Linked DNA regions of Homo sapiens: region 1 is linked to region 2. The links are contacts of gene promoters, found by promoter capture Hi-C in blood cells and fetal thymus (Javierre and others, 2016). All regions are on one chromosome and are shown on one strand. The core of a region is centred on a gene start or on the middle of the fragment in contact, and the rest is flanking DNA. Distances in the headings are between cores, read along the strand shown. Region 1 overlaps PCBP1-AS1 (PCBP1 antisense RNA 1). Region 2 holds the start of ASPRV1 (aspartic peptidase retroviral like 1).

The links. Contacts are between HindIII fragments. The CHiCAGO score rates a contact against its expected background, and 5 or more counts as called.
Region 1: a contact is called between a fragment that was not itself captured here and the fragment with the promoter of ASPRV1 in region 2, in 1 of 17 cell types (neutrophils). The highest score is 5.3, in neutrophils.

What each region holds. Positions count from the first base shown.
Region 1 is chr2:69,993,807-70,000,733 of GRCh38, reverse strand. PCBP1-AS1 (PCBP1 antisense RNA 1) reads left to right here. Exons shown (of 11, transcript NR_033872.1): 8 at 3,846-4,048. It also overlaps a transcript of ASPRV1 not described here. Among named protein-coding and RNA genes, the nearest start is that of ASPRV1, 36 kb to the right of the region's middle. RefSeq lists a silencer at 3,032-3,286. The HindIII fragment of the contact is 8,346 bases long and covers 1-6,778 here.
Region 2 is chr2:69,956,148-69,963,034 of GRCh38, reverse strand. ASPRV1 (aspartic peptidase retroviral like 1) reads left to right here and starts at 1,404. Exons shown (of 1, transcript NM_152792.4): 1 at 1,404-2,946. The coding sequence starts at 1,599. The coding sequence ends at 2,378. It overlaps PCBP1-AS1 (PCBP1 antisense RNA 1), which reads left to right. Exons shown (of 11, transcript NR_033872.1): 11 at 1-772. RefSeq lists a silencer at 1,224-1,518. The HindIII fragment of the contact is 12,271 bases long and covers 1-6,887 here.

The sequences.
Region 1 (6,927 bases), core at 1,356-3,855, 36 kb before region 2:
CACTGCAGCCTCAACCTCCTGGGCTCAGGTGATCCCCCACCTCAGCTTCCCAAGTAACTGGGACTATAGGCGCATGCCACCATAGCCAGCTAGTTTTTGTATTTTAAGTAGAGACAGGGTTTTGCCGTGTTGGCCAGGCTGGTCTCAAGTTCCTGAGCCCAAGCAATCCGCCCACCTCGGCCTCCCAAAGTGTTGGGATTACAGGCGTGAGCCACCGAGCCCAGTCAGTTTTCTGTTTTCTATTGATATATTTCTCCATTTTTCCCACTTCATTTGTGTAGTTTATTATTATTATTTAGTGTGGTATATTATTTTTTTCTTATTTATTTTAAAGATGTATTCAGGCTATTAACTCCTTGTCTGTCATATATTACGTGTGTGTGTGTGTGTGTGTGTGGTTTTTTTTTTTTTTTTTGGAGATGAGGGTTTCACTATGTTGCCGAGGCTGGCCTCAAACATCTGGCCTCAAGTAATACTCCTGCCTTAGCCTGCCCAGTAGCTGGGATTACAGGTGTGAGCCACCTTGCCCAATTCTCATATATTACAAATATTTTATCCTAGATTATCACTTGTCATTTAGTCTTGTTCATTTTTAAAGCATTCATGAATCTAAAATATCCATGTAATCAAGGTAGTCTGTATAGGCTTTCCAAACCATGAGGCTAGAGGTGGCCATGACTCGAAGCAGGGAGGCCAGCAGGGAGGCGGCTCCTGCCAGAGTGCAGATGTGGCAGGATGAGGCCGAAGGTGGGGCAGGGCTAGAGAGGAGGCGAGCGGGGCCAACTCAAGGCAGATGAGAGAGGGGACCAAGATGTGGTGACCTTGGGTGGGAGAGGGAGGAAGGAGGAGGAGCCCGGGGTGACTCACAGGTGCTGACCCGGAGGAGGGCAGGGTGTGAGCAGGTAGAGGATGAGCCAGGATTGGGACTGTAGGAAGGGGAGTGGTGGGGGTGGGGTGCAGAGATCGTGACAATTCCCTTTGGGATTGTTGTGTGGAGGCTCCTGGCCAGATAAGTCACTGGTATTTGGATCACTAGGACTGGGCTGGTTTCTGTCTTTTTTTTTTTTTTTTTTTTTTTGAGACAGAGTCTTGCTCTGTCACTCAGGCTGGAGTGCAGTGGCACGATTTCAGCTCACTGAAACCTCTGCCTCCTGTGTTCAAGTGATTATCCTGCCTTAGCCTGCCGAGTAGCCAGGATTACAGGCATGCCCCCACCACACCGGCTAGTTTTTGTATTTTTGTAGTAGAGACTAGGTTTCACCATGTTGGCCAGTCTTGTGTTGAACTCCTGAGCTCAAGTGATCTGCCCTCCTTGGCCTCCCAAAATACTGGGATTATAGGCATTGTTTCTGTCTTTATATCAGTTTCAGGAATACTTCCGCTGCAGAATTTATATTAATATATTCACACAAATTATCTCAATATTTTAGTGAGTTTTTTTTTTTAATTTGAATCTTAATCTAGCTGGGCACAGTGGTGTGCACCTGGAGTCCCAGCTACCTGGGAGGCGGAGGCAGGAGGAATGCTCAGGCCTAGGAGCTGAAGGCTGTAGTGCGTTGCGATTGCACCTGTGACTAGCCACTGCACTCCAGCCTGGGCTACGTAGTGAAACCCTGTTTCCAAAAAATAAAATAAATATTAATCTAGATGGAATCTGTAGTATTTTTGTGAATTGTGAAAGTTAAGGAGTTAACTCACTGTCATTGACCTCCACCTGGGGCAGCCCCCAGTCCCTGGCCCAGAGACAGTCCTGTGGGCCCTCAGAGTCCCTGTGTCGCTGCTGCTGTTACTGCTATGGCTCTTGGCCTGTGCCCGACTGCTGACTGCCATCAAGCCCACTGTGTTGGGGTTTCCTGTCAGTCATGCCCGGAGCCCTGCCTCTAGCCAGTGCCCTCTCCCAGCCTGGTTTCTTTCGAGCATTTCCTGCGGGTTAGCTCTGGGGATCTTTTCCTAGCCTGTTCTTACCTGTGTTATTGCCAGAAAGAAATCTTTTTTTTTTTTTTTTGAGACGGAGTCTTGCTCTGTCACCCAGGCTGGAGTGCAGTGGCGTGATCTCTGCTCACTGCAAGATCCGCCTCCCGGGTTCACGCCATTCTCCTGCCTCAGCCTCCTGAGTAGCTGGGACTACAGGCGCCCACCACCGTGCCCGGCTAATTTTTTTTTGTATTTTTAGTAGAGACGGGGTTTCACCGTGGTCTCGATCTGACCTCGTGATCCACCCGCCTCAGCCTCCCAAAGTGCTGGGATTACAGGCGTGAGCCACTGCGCCCGGCACCAGAAAGAATTCTTCACAGTTGCTGGCATTTTTATGGCCTTTCCCCAGTTTCTTTAGCAGATGCATATTTTTCTCTGTTTCAGATTTGCTAGGTTCTTTTTTTTTTTAAGTGACTTTTTAAAGGATCTTTTCTTATTGGGGAATGACAAACATAAAGTCACAAATCCTAAGCATACATCTCAGTGAATTTTTACATAGGTATTCACTATGTCCCCACTACCCTGATCAAGAGACTTCTTTTAGCGTTAAGAAGCTATTGGTGGGAGGTTGGGTGGAGAGGGAAATCATAAATGTGTCCCCACACTGCTTTTTTTTTTTTTCTAGAACTATCAGGAAATGGTGTGAGGAGGGGAGCCACATATGAATTTCGGCTTTATAAAGGGGTATGGAGAGCACAGCGGTTAGAAGTCAGGCTGGTCATGAGCTGGTCCTGCCCCTCACTAGCCCTGAGACTTTCTATGCCTCAGTTTCAACAACTGTAAAATGGGAGTAGAATACAGCTCCTGTCTCATAGCATTGTCATGAAGATTACATGAGGCAGTGCACGTAAGTGCACAAAAAATGTCAATTGTTGTTTCTCTTGTTATTAATAACGATGAGGAAGAGGCGGCCGTAACCGTGGTTCTTAACTAGGAGTATGTGTCAGAATCACCTGGGGCACTTTTGCAAAAATACACATGCTTGACCCGGCCAGATCAACTGAGTCAGGATCTAGATTTTAAATGCCTCCCCAGGTCATTCTGTTGCTCATCTGTGGTTCAGTGCCATCGGGCTGGAGGTGGCCATGACTGGAAGCAGGGAAGCCAGCAGGCGGCCCCTGCCAGAGAGCAGGTGTGGCAGGAGGAGGACGCAGCTGGGGCAGGGCTGGCGAGGAGGAGAGCAGAGCTGACTTGAGGCAGACAGGAGAGGTGGCCAAGACATGGTGACTTTGCACAGGGGAGGGAGGAAGGAGGAGAAGCCCGGGGTGACTCACAGGTGCTGACTTGGACAAGTGTGGTGGAGGATGAGCCAGGGTAGGGACTACAGGAAGAGAAGTGGTGGGGGCAGGGCACAGAGATTGTGACAATTCCTTCTGGGCTCCTGGTGAGGATAAGTCAGTATTTAGATCTCTAGGCCTAGGTCGGTACTATGGTTCTGGGAGATGTTGGTGCGGAGGAGATGGATAAAGCCATGGGCTTGGTCATTGAGTAAAATGTAGAGGGCAGAGGAGGGCCAAGTTCACAAGCATCCTCCTCTGCAAAGGCCTGCGTCCATTTTTTTTTTTTTTTTTTAATAGACTGGGTCTTGCTCTGTCACCCAGGCTAGAGTGCAGTGGTGCGATCATAGCTCACTGTAGCTTTCAACTTCTGGGCTTAAGCCATCCTCCTGCCTTAACTTCTCAAAGTGTTGGAACTATAGGCGTGAGCCCCACACCCAGCCTCCTTGTGTGTCCACTTCTTATTCTGCCTTACCTAGAAATAGAGAAGAGCTTGTTTCTCATGCAATAACCCCTGCTGAGGACTGTTGGAAAATAAACTGTCCCCTCATCTGAAGATGAATAATAACTTTGGGTCATTTTCTTTCTTTACAGGTCACAGAATTTTCCACACTCCTTGACAGAGGTGCTTAACCCTTATCCATCAGCATTCTCAGACAGCACCTCCGGTTAGGGACAGTATCTGACCGTCCGACATCCCTGCAGCCCCCATGTGTCACACAGACTCAGCCTCAGGTAGATGGTTTCCGTAGATGGTGGCTTTCTTTGGACCCTTGACATCAACCAGTTACTATTTGGTAAGAACTTAAGTCATTCCAGTGCCTCTCTCAGAAGCATTTGCATTTAGAATTTCAGGTGTCATAGAAGTAATGAAAGACGTTGCATTCCTGAAGGAATGAATAAATTATTCATTTTGTTGTTCTGGAACATCACTGCCCACTAGAATTTACCATGATGATAGTAATGTTCTCTGTGCTGTTCCATGAAGTAGCTACTGGCCACATGTGGCTATTGAACATTTGAGATGTGTCCAGTGTGACTGAGGAACTGGATTTTTTCATTTTAATGAATTAAAATTGAATTTTTTTTTTGAGACAAGGTCTTACTCTGTCACCCACGCTGGAGTGCAGTGCTGTGATCATGGCTCATTGCAGCTTTGACCTCCTGGGCTCACATAATTCTCCCACCTCAGCCTCCCAAGTAGCTGGGACCACAGGTGTGTGCCACCACACCCAGCTAATTGTTTTTTTTTTTTTTTTTTTTTTTTTGAGAGATGGGGGTCTCCCTATATTGCCCAGGCTGGTCTCAAACTCCTGGGCTCAAGCGATCCTCCCTTGGCATCCCAAAGTGCTGGGATTACAGGGGTGAACCTCGACACCCCACCTTAAAATTGTAATTTAAACTGAAAAAAGGAAAACAGGCACTATGAAGTTGTATTCTCTGGGTTGGTGAGAGCTAGGGATGTTATGCTGATACCCCACCTGACTGCTCCACTACCAAGTGCTCCCCAAAGAGATTTGGAATAAAGGAGGAGGAGGCCTTGGTTCTTAACTAAGGATGATTCCAACCATCTGCAAAAGCAGGCATCAAGTAGAAGATTACTTGGCTGTTTCCACATCGAAACCAAATGGGCTTTCTTTCTCCCCCTAACGCTGGCCTCAGCCCTCATTCTGCCTGCATGAGAAGGCGGTGTCTAGTACTGCCCCTCCCAGGCCTCTCCAGGCTTCCTTCTTCCTGCTCTTCCCACCTTGGGACAATTGCCCCTGCCCTCCCTTCTGCCCTGTGTCCCTCTTCCTGCTCCCACCACAGCAAGCCCCACCTCCTCCAAGAAGGCTTCCCAGACTCCTCTGTCCCTTCCAGGTGAGGCTAGTTCTAGGGCCCTGAACAAATTCCATTTGGCTTCCCAACTGAGGGTAAGGTGGCAGGGATGGGTCTTAGGAAGATCAACTGCAGGATGGATGTGAGTGTAACCACTGTATTTCTGACTTCTTCGACCACTGCTTATGGTGAGAAAGATATCTCCTGTCCCAAGCAGGACACACCTCAATGTATGGATACATAGCACTGAAGCAAAAGTTTTTTTTTTTTTTTTTTGAGGCAGAGTCTTGCTCTGTCACCCAGGCTGGAGTGCAGTGGCGTGATCTTGGCTCACTGCAAGCTCCGCCTCCCGGGTTCGCACCATTCTTCTGCCTCAGCCTCCCGAGTAGCTGGGACTACAGGTGCCCGTCACCACGCCTGGCTAATTTTTTTTTTGTATTTTTAGTACAGACGGGGTTTCACTGTGTTAGCCAGGATGGTCTCGATCTCCTGACCTCGTGATCTGCCTGCCTCGGCCTCCCAAAGTGCTGGGATTACAGGTGTGAGCCACTGCACCCGGCCGCAAAAGTTTTGTCAAAACAATATTCACCCTGACTACATGTGATGTGCTTGGATATTATTCTGTTTAATTAATTAATTAATTAATTTATTTATTTATTTTTTGAGACGGAGTCTCGCTCTGTCACCCAGGCCGGAGTGCAGCGGCGCGATCTCGGCTCACTGCAAGCTCCGCCTTCCAGGTTCACGCCATTTTCCTGCCTCAGCCTCCTGAGTAGCTGGGACTACAGGTGCCTGCCACCACGCCCAGCTAATTTTTTTTTTTGTATTTTTAATAGAGACAGGGTTTCACCGTGTTAGCCAGGATGGTCTTGATCTCCTGACCTCATGATCCGCCCTCCTCGGCCTCCCAAAGTGCTGGGATTACAGGCATAAGCCACTGCACCTGTCCTATTCTGTTTATTTTTTTAAAGAGAAAGGCTGGTTGTGACCCACTAAATTGATTTCATGACCCAGTAGCAAGTCACAACCCACCAGGTGAGCAACATAGAGTGAGATCCTGGCTGCATCTTTGCCCCAGCTGTGACAGCCAGCCCTTCCCAACTCAGAGCAGCTCCAAACACAGCCCAGGCTGCCCGTTACTGTACCGCCCACATGCTGCACCCCGGGTTCCTTGAAGAGCTAGCACATGATGAGCTCATCCAAGTGGTCTCCCTGAGGGGCTCTGCTCTTTCCCAGACTCTCACTGCTCCGTTGGTCATGCTGTAAAATGGCCATGGCCACAGATGCTGTGTCAGGAGGTTGAAGTCTATAGAACACACTAGACACGTAAGAGAAGGATGCCAGGTCAGGGCCAGGGACACAGGCTGCACATCTCACCTCTCTTGATCTCATCCCTCTTAATGGGACCTCTCAGGTCTAGGGGTCTCACCAACGCTGCTCATCTAGCAGGGCCACACATAACAAATAGAAGCAGAGCAAGCCCTGGAACTCCTGCCTGACAGTGACACGACGACAGAAACATCTTACCAGTCAGAGGACCATGAGAAATAGATTCAAGGAGCATTCCACGTGCAAGTGAGTCTTGGCCCCATCTGCCTTTGGATTTTAGCCGTGAACTGGAAGGTATTGGAAAGAAGACCCTCAGAAATAGCTTAATCAAAATCCCTGCGTCTGAACCAAGTGCCTTATTTCTCTGTGGGCCTCAAGCTTCGCTGACATCTGTGGAGCACACTGTCCTAACAGGAGTGCTGTCTGATTTCCCAACGCTCTGCAAAACAAACAGCCTGGAAGGGTGGCTGGTGGAAGGTGGTTTTTAGAGAGAGACTTGTAGATAACAGGAAAGTGAAGGCTGTAAGGA
Region 2 (6,887 bases), core at 155-2,654:
GGGAGCTGAAGAGGGACAGGCTCTTGGCCAGGAAAAACAGCCCCAGAGCCACAGGTGTGCCATCGAGTCTTCCTCCTCTCCCATCCTTAATCACTCCTGTTTGGTGACAGCACACAGCTAGGCCTGGAGCCCAGCAAAGAGCCCCTGGGTCCCAGAGGAAGTTGTTCTGGGGGCTGGAGACAATCACAAATGCCAGGTTTGTGAGCCCCAGACTCTGGTTCATAGCAAGAGGCAGACTTGTGAACAAACCACCAGATCACACCGTAAAACACGCTCAACGAGGAGTGGGTGCCCTTTCTAGGGACAGGCAGAAGGCTCCATGGAGTGACCTTTGAATGGGGACATAAAAGTGGATCCCTTCAACAGCCCCTGCACAGCCCCAAGTCAGGCCTCCAGCCCTTGGACTCACAGATGTCCTCTGTAGACGACTGGATGTCCTCCCGTGCTACCCTTTACCCCTGCAGCGAGGGGCACAGAGCCAGAGCCCTCCAGGTCCTCACCACTGGCATCACCAACATAGTGGACATTTTCCCTCTCAGAATGAAAAGGGAGTGAAATTTCCCGTGATCTTTCCACAAATGACCAGCTTGGGGAGTGGGAGAGGAAGTGCTGCAGTGCCTGGGGAAGGGGCCCTGGAACAGTTCCTGGAAATGGAGAGGGGTGGATAGGGTGGAGACAATGCTCATGGAGTGCAGTATGGGGCCTACCCAGAGTTGCTTGGCCACCCCTCTGCCTCTGAATCAGGGGTGATCAATGAAGGAAAATTACTGCAGCAGTTGAGTCCATGTAAGATGATTGTGCACGTGTGTGTGTGTGTGTGTGTGTGTGTGTGTGTCCTCACTCACTTAAAAAAGACCATTTCTGTGCATTCTTTATGCTGGAACCCTCCTCTGCCTCCCTCTCCAGGAAATCCCATAGGATCCCATACCTGCTTTAGAATGTGTGTGAGACACTTCCCAGTGCCTGGCATGTGGTAGGAGCTCAGTACATGTAAACTGTTTTCCTTTGACCACTCAAAGTAGTCACTTGTTGGGGAGGCCAATGGCGGCTTCCCCGGTCTCTGAGCTGATGGGCGTCTGGTCCCTGCCTCCCCTTCCTTCACTGGCTGATGACAAATACCTGAATGTCATCACATCCTCCGTGTCCTCATCTGTTATTCTGGAACACAGGCCAGGGAGGGTACAGGGTAGTCCCCCTTCAACAGAGGCTGGCCTTTCTTGGGATGTGGGCTGGCTGGTGTTGGTCCAAGGATGGATGCAGAGGGTGAGGCACCCATCCTGCTAGTCCGGCCGGATGCTGGCAGGAGGGCGGGGTGAGGAGGGGCGGAGCTTCCAGAACAAAGGAGAATGGGGAGCCCAGGGGCCAGCCTAGGCATCAAAAAGGCTCTGCAGAGTGAACAGGCCACAGCACTGCCTGCCTCTGCCCCAGCAGTCAGCCAGCCGACCGCGCCTGCTCCCTCCTGCTTGCCCAAGGCCGGGCAAGTCATCCCCACTCTGCTTCGAGAGGCCCCGTTTTCCAGCGTGATTGCGCCGACACTGCTCTGTGGGTTTCTCTTCTTGGCGTGGGTTGCTGCTGAGGTTCCAGAGGAGAGCAGCAGGATGGCCGGGAGCGGAGCCAGGAGTGAGGAAGGCCGCCGGCAGCATGCCTTCGTCCCGGAACCTTTTGATGGGGCCAATGTCGTCCCAAACCTCTGGCTGCACAGCTTTGAAGTCATCAATGACCTCAACCATTGGGACCATATCACCAAGCTAAGGTTCCTGAAAGAGTCCCTCAGAGGAGAGGCCCTGGGTGTCTACAATAGGCTCAGTCCCCAGGACCAGGGAGACTATGGGACTGTGAAAGAGGCCCTCCTGAAGGCCTTTGGGGTCCCTGGGGCTGCCCCCAGCCACCTGCCCAAAGAGATCGTCTTTGCCAACAGCATGGGTAAGGGCTACTATCTCAAGGGGAAGATTGGCAAAGTGCCCGTGAGGTTCCTGGTGGACTCTGGGGCCCAGGTCTCTGTGGTCCACCCAAACTTGTGGGAGGAGGTCACTGATGGCGATCTGGACACCCTGCAGCCCTTTGAGAATGTGGTAAAGGTGGCCAATGGTGCTGAAATGAAGATCCTGGGTGTCTGGGATACAGCGGTGTCCCTAGGCAAGCTGAAGCTGAAGGCACAGTTCCTAGTGGCCAATGCGAGTGCCGAGGAAGCCATCATTGGCACTGATGTGCTCCAGGACCACAATGCTATCCTGGACTTTGAGCACCGCACATGCACCCTGAAAGGGAAGAAGTTTCGCCTTCTGCCTGTGGGAGGGTCCCTGGAAGATGAGTTTGACCTGGAGCTCATAGAGGAGGACCCCTCCTCAGAAGAAGGGCGGCAGGAGCTATCCCACTGAGAAGCCACCTTTTCTTTAACCTCCTAAATATTGGTGGGAAGACCCACCGCTGTGGGGGGGGTTGCATATCCTCATGGGGGTCACTGGGCTTGGCCAGTCTGCTTATCAACTCTTGCTCTTCTCTCCCCTTTGCCTCCCTCTGCAGGGGCCTTAATCTGCCCCTGGTAGGGGAGGCTTCCACTGAACAGGCACAGGTGAGGGAGAGCAGGCTGGCTTAGAGGGACAGGGTCCCCATGGTCATCAAGCTGCTGTTGATGACAAAGACTCAAAGGCTGGAAGAGCTCCCAAGGAAGCTAGAAATGCTTGTCTTTGAAAGAACTGTGGGACCCCTTCAGATTCCCTGAGGTATGGCTTGGTCACTCTCAGGTCCTCAAAGCCTGTCTTAGTTGGGCTGGGTCCTAGCTGCAGGGTCTTTGTGAGGGTCACAGTTGCTCTGGGACACCTCCCTGAAGAGCCTTTCCACCTGTACAATCGTATTTTCTTTCTGTCATTTGCTTTGAAGCCCATTGTGCCTTATGCCAATAATTCAATTGCTGCAAACACCAATAAAGATTGATTCATGGAAAAACCATGTAATGTGTTGATTGAGGATGAGAGGAATGTGAGAGGGAGTCAGCATCAAAGACAAGGGAGATTCACATGTCTACTGAGTGCCTAGCTGGAGGTATAAGAACATATACACAGGGATGACAGGTCTTGGATTTTCTAAGACAGTCTCAGCATAAAATATTTTGACTTATTCCCTCCAGAATTGCTCTCATTATTTTGAATCGTCATAATTCCTCTACTTATTTCAATCTGTAGTATTTTAGCATACAAATTGCCTCTATACCCAAAAGTGACCCTAAAGTTTTATGTGAGATGTCTTGATTGGGGATTGGGAAATTATGGTTATGATAAACAAACAGGAAAGTGTCTGCTGGGCAAATAGGTTCTTACAGCTGTCCAGGAGCGAGAACTTGGAGGCAGAAAGCAGGGCCAGGAGACAAGTGTTGACCTGTGTGGGGCAGCCCAAGGGCATGCTGGAGGACGGGGGAGGCTGTGGCAAGGCAGGGTCCCGGCGGTGGGAGGTCAGCTTCTTCTTGGAGGGACTTGGAACAGAGCCTGAAACTAGATGACCTGATGGAGGGGAGGACATTCCCAGATCTGGGAATGGGGTGTGCATCTCTTTTAGGGGTCCATCTCGTATTTGCTTCCAAATTTCTGTTTCTTTTTCTGGAGTGCAGCAGGGCTGGGAATCTGAAACTCAAAGGGAGGAGCTGAGTGGACAAAAGTCTCCACAGAAGAGCCAGTTTGTTCCAAATCTCAGGCCTCCCCACCAAGCACATCGGGCGAGCCTGTTCTCAGGGGAGGGTGGCCTGCACCCTCCAAACTTTGGGCCCAGGAAGATTGGCGCAAGGTCAGAGACTCGAACGTGCAGGGATCCCAGACCTCTTGATGGAGGCATGAAGGACCATTTTCCATCCTCCAGGGTGGAATGAGCCTCTTGAAGTTCCCACCTGGACAGCTCCTGAGGGAGAGACAGAAGGCAGGAGTGAAGCCCCTGGACTTTTTGAAGCTGATCTGAGCCAGGATCAGCTGCCCGTCCCTGGCCCCTTCTTCCCTCCGATTCCAGCTGTGATTCTCCTGGGAACTGAGGCATGGCTCAGCCCCTAATCCTCGGGGTTTACCGAGGCCCCTTCCCTGGGCAGCCAAGCATCTTAACTGAAATTAGCTCCATCAGCCCCAGGGCACCTGGAGGAAGGACAGGTGTGGGATCAGGAGGAAATCTATTTCCAGAAAAGTGATGCCTAGAGAAGTGGGTGGGAGAACTGGAGAAGGGGGTGAGAGAACTGGAGAAGGCGATGGGGGAACTGGAGAAAGGGTGGTCTCCGGATGACTCCCAGATCCTGCATCCCCCTTCTCAAATTTGATTTTCAGCCCCACTCTCTGTGGCCTAACGCATGCTGCTCTCTCATGGGCCGAGCCCTCTCCCGAGGGAACAATCCAGGTGGCACCTCCCTGTGACTTATTTTCCTCCAGGTCCTTTGGATCCCAGCCACGTGCTGGGTAGAAGGAGGGAGGGTAAAGAGTCTGTAAGTGGGTGGGTGGGGAGCTGGGGAGGGGACTAAGGAATTGGTGGCCAGGCCAGAATTCCAGAGCAATACCCCAGCCTCCCTGCCCTTTCCCACACACCACACGGAGTGGAGCCCTGTCCTGGGTGATTGCAAATGGGATGCTGTGTCCCAGCAGCAGACACCTTCTTCCCCTGCTCTGAGTGAGGAGAGCCTGTCTGAGCCCCCAGGTCTCCAGCTCTCAGCCAGTTTTCTCTCCTAGAGAAATGTGGGCCCCCCGAGAGGGCACAGTGAGGGGTGGGGTCTGTGACATCTGAAGCATGGCCCCCATGGAGGAAGGGACCATGTGGTGCTTCTTACTGGGAGACCCGAGTGAGGCTGAGACCGCTGCTGCATGCGGGTGAGAGTGATCACAGCTGCAGATGCGTCAACGTGGAACCCAGCTGCAGGACTATGAGCAGCTGCTCTCTGGGAAGTCAGGTATCAAACAACAGAGAAGCCCGGGAGAGAAGCCAGAAAAAGTGGGTTGTGGCCACACCACAGAGGGCTTGCTGTCTGGGTGAGGAGTTCACACCTGCCTCCCACAGTGGGCGTTTGAACCATGGGAGAGCAGGAAGATTCATCTGCCTTCTGGGTATAGGATGGAGTAAAGCAGCAGCAAAGGCTCTGCTGGGACACCATGGCAGTCCTTATACCTAAGGTCTGCTTTTGCAATGATGGAAAGGAGGATGCAGGATCAGTGTGAAGGTTTAGCCTTTGGAGCACATGATAATCACCAGAGAAGACCCATGAACATCAGTTCCTCCAGTGGTCCCAAAGTGCAGCAGGCTTGGGAACCCATGGTCTAAATTCCAGTGGCATCTACCCCTGTACTGCCCAAAGGGTGATCCATGAACCAGCAGGAAGGCGGCATCAGCATCACCTGCGAGCCTGTTGGGAATACAGACTCTCCATCCCCACCCAGACCAGCGCCAGAATCTGCAGTGAGCAAGATCCCCAAGTGATTCTAGGGGACATAAGAGTTTGAAAAGCCCTGGCCTAGAACATTCTAATACCTCTAGTTAAGGGGGCCCTACAAGCTGCCTTCTTCTCTAATAATGACCACCACAAACTGAATGCATGCCAGTTCCCCAGACCATACTAGATAATTCTTTATGCTTTTATCCAGAAAATCTTTAAGTCTTAATTTGAGACTAACAGGAAAGTTGCAAGAGCAGTACAAAGAATTTCCACGTTTCACCCAGTTTCCCCAAATATTAGCATTTTTCCAATTAACTTCATCATCTCTCTCATTCTCATTCCTTTTCTCCTATCTATATATATAGGAACCTTTGAAAATCGCAAATATGATGCACTTTTATCTCTAAATACTTCAGTGTATATTTCCTAGGGGAAAACAACAACAACAACAAGGGCATTCTCTTATATAACCATGATGCAGTTATCAAAATCAGGAAGTTCACTGATGTAATACCACTATCATCTGATCTTCAGATCTTACTCCAATGGTTCCAATTATCCCAACAAGAACATTGTTGGCCCCCAGATTATTTTCTAGTCCAGGACTGAATTCAGCTACATATTGCATTTAGTTGCCGTGTCTCTTTCATCTCCTTTAATCTGAGTAATTCCTCTGTCTTTGTTTTCATGACCCTGATAGTTTTGAGGACGCCTGGCCAGTTATTCTGTAGAATGTTCCTCAGTTTGGCTGAATCTGATGTTCAGTTGTGGTGAGATTCGGGCTGTGGGTTTCGGGCAGGAATACCCAGAAGTGATGGTGCATCCTCAGTACATCGTATCAGGAGGCATATGTTGCCGACTTGTTTCATCACTTGGTCAAAATGCTGTTTGCCAGGTTTTTACTCCATAAATAACTATTTTACCCCCGTCATGAGTAAGTGTCTTGTGGGGAGACACTCTGAAGCCATATAAATATCTTGTTTCTCATAAGACTGTCACCACTAGCCTCAGCACCCATTGGTGATCTTTGTCTGAATTGTCACTGTGATATTACCAAATTACCAAATGATGGTGATTTTCTAATCTCCTTCTTCTTCTTCTCCTCCTCCTCCTTCTCCTCCTCCTCCTCCCCTCCTCCTCTGCTTTCTTCTTCTTCTTCCTCTTTTCTTCTTCTTCTTCTTCTTCTTCTTCCTCTTCTCCTTCTCCTTCTTCTTTCTTCTTTCTTCTTCACAGGGTCTTGCTTTTTTGCCCTAGCTGGTCTCAAACTCCTGGGCTCAAGTGATCCTCCTGACTCAGCCTCCAAAGTAGCTGGGCTTACAGGACTAATTCTATCCTTCTATACCTATTAGCTGGCCCTCAACTCTACAGAAGAGCTTTCTCTACTCATTTATTGGTTGATTTATACCATGTGGACTTAGAGATTCTTATTTTTCTATGAGTTATACTCATTTACAATCATTATTTATTTTGATGCTCAAATTGTTTTAGATTTGGC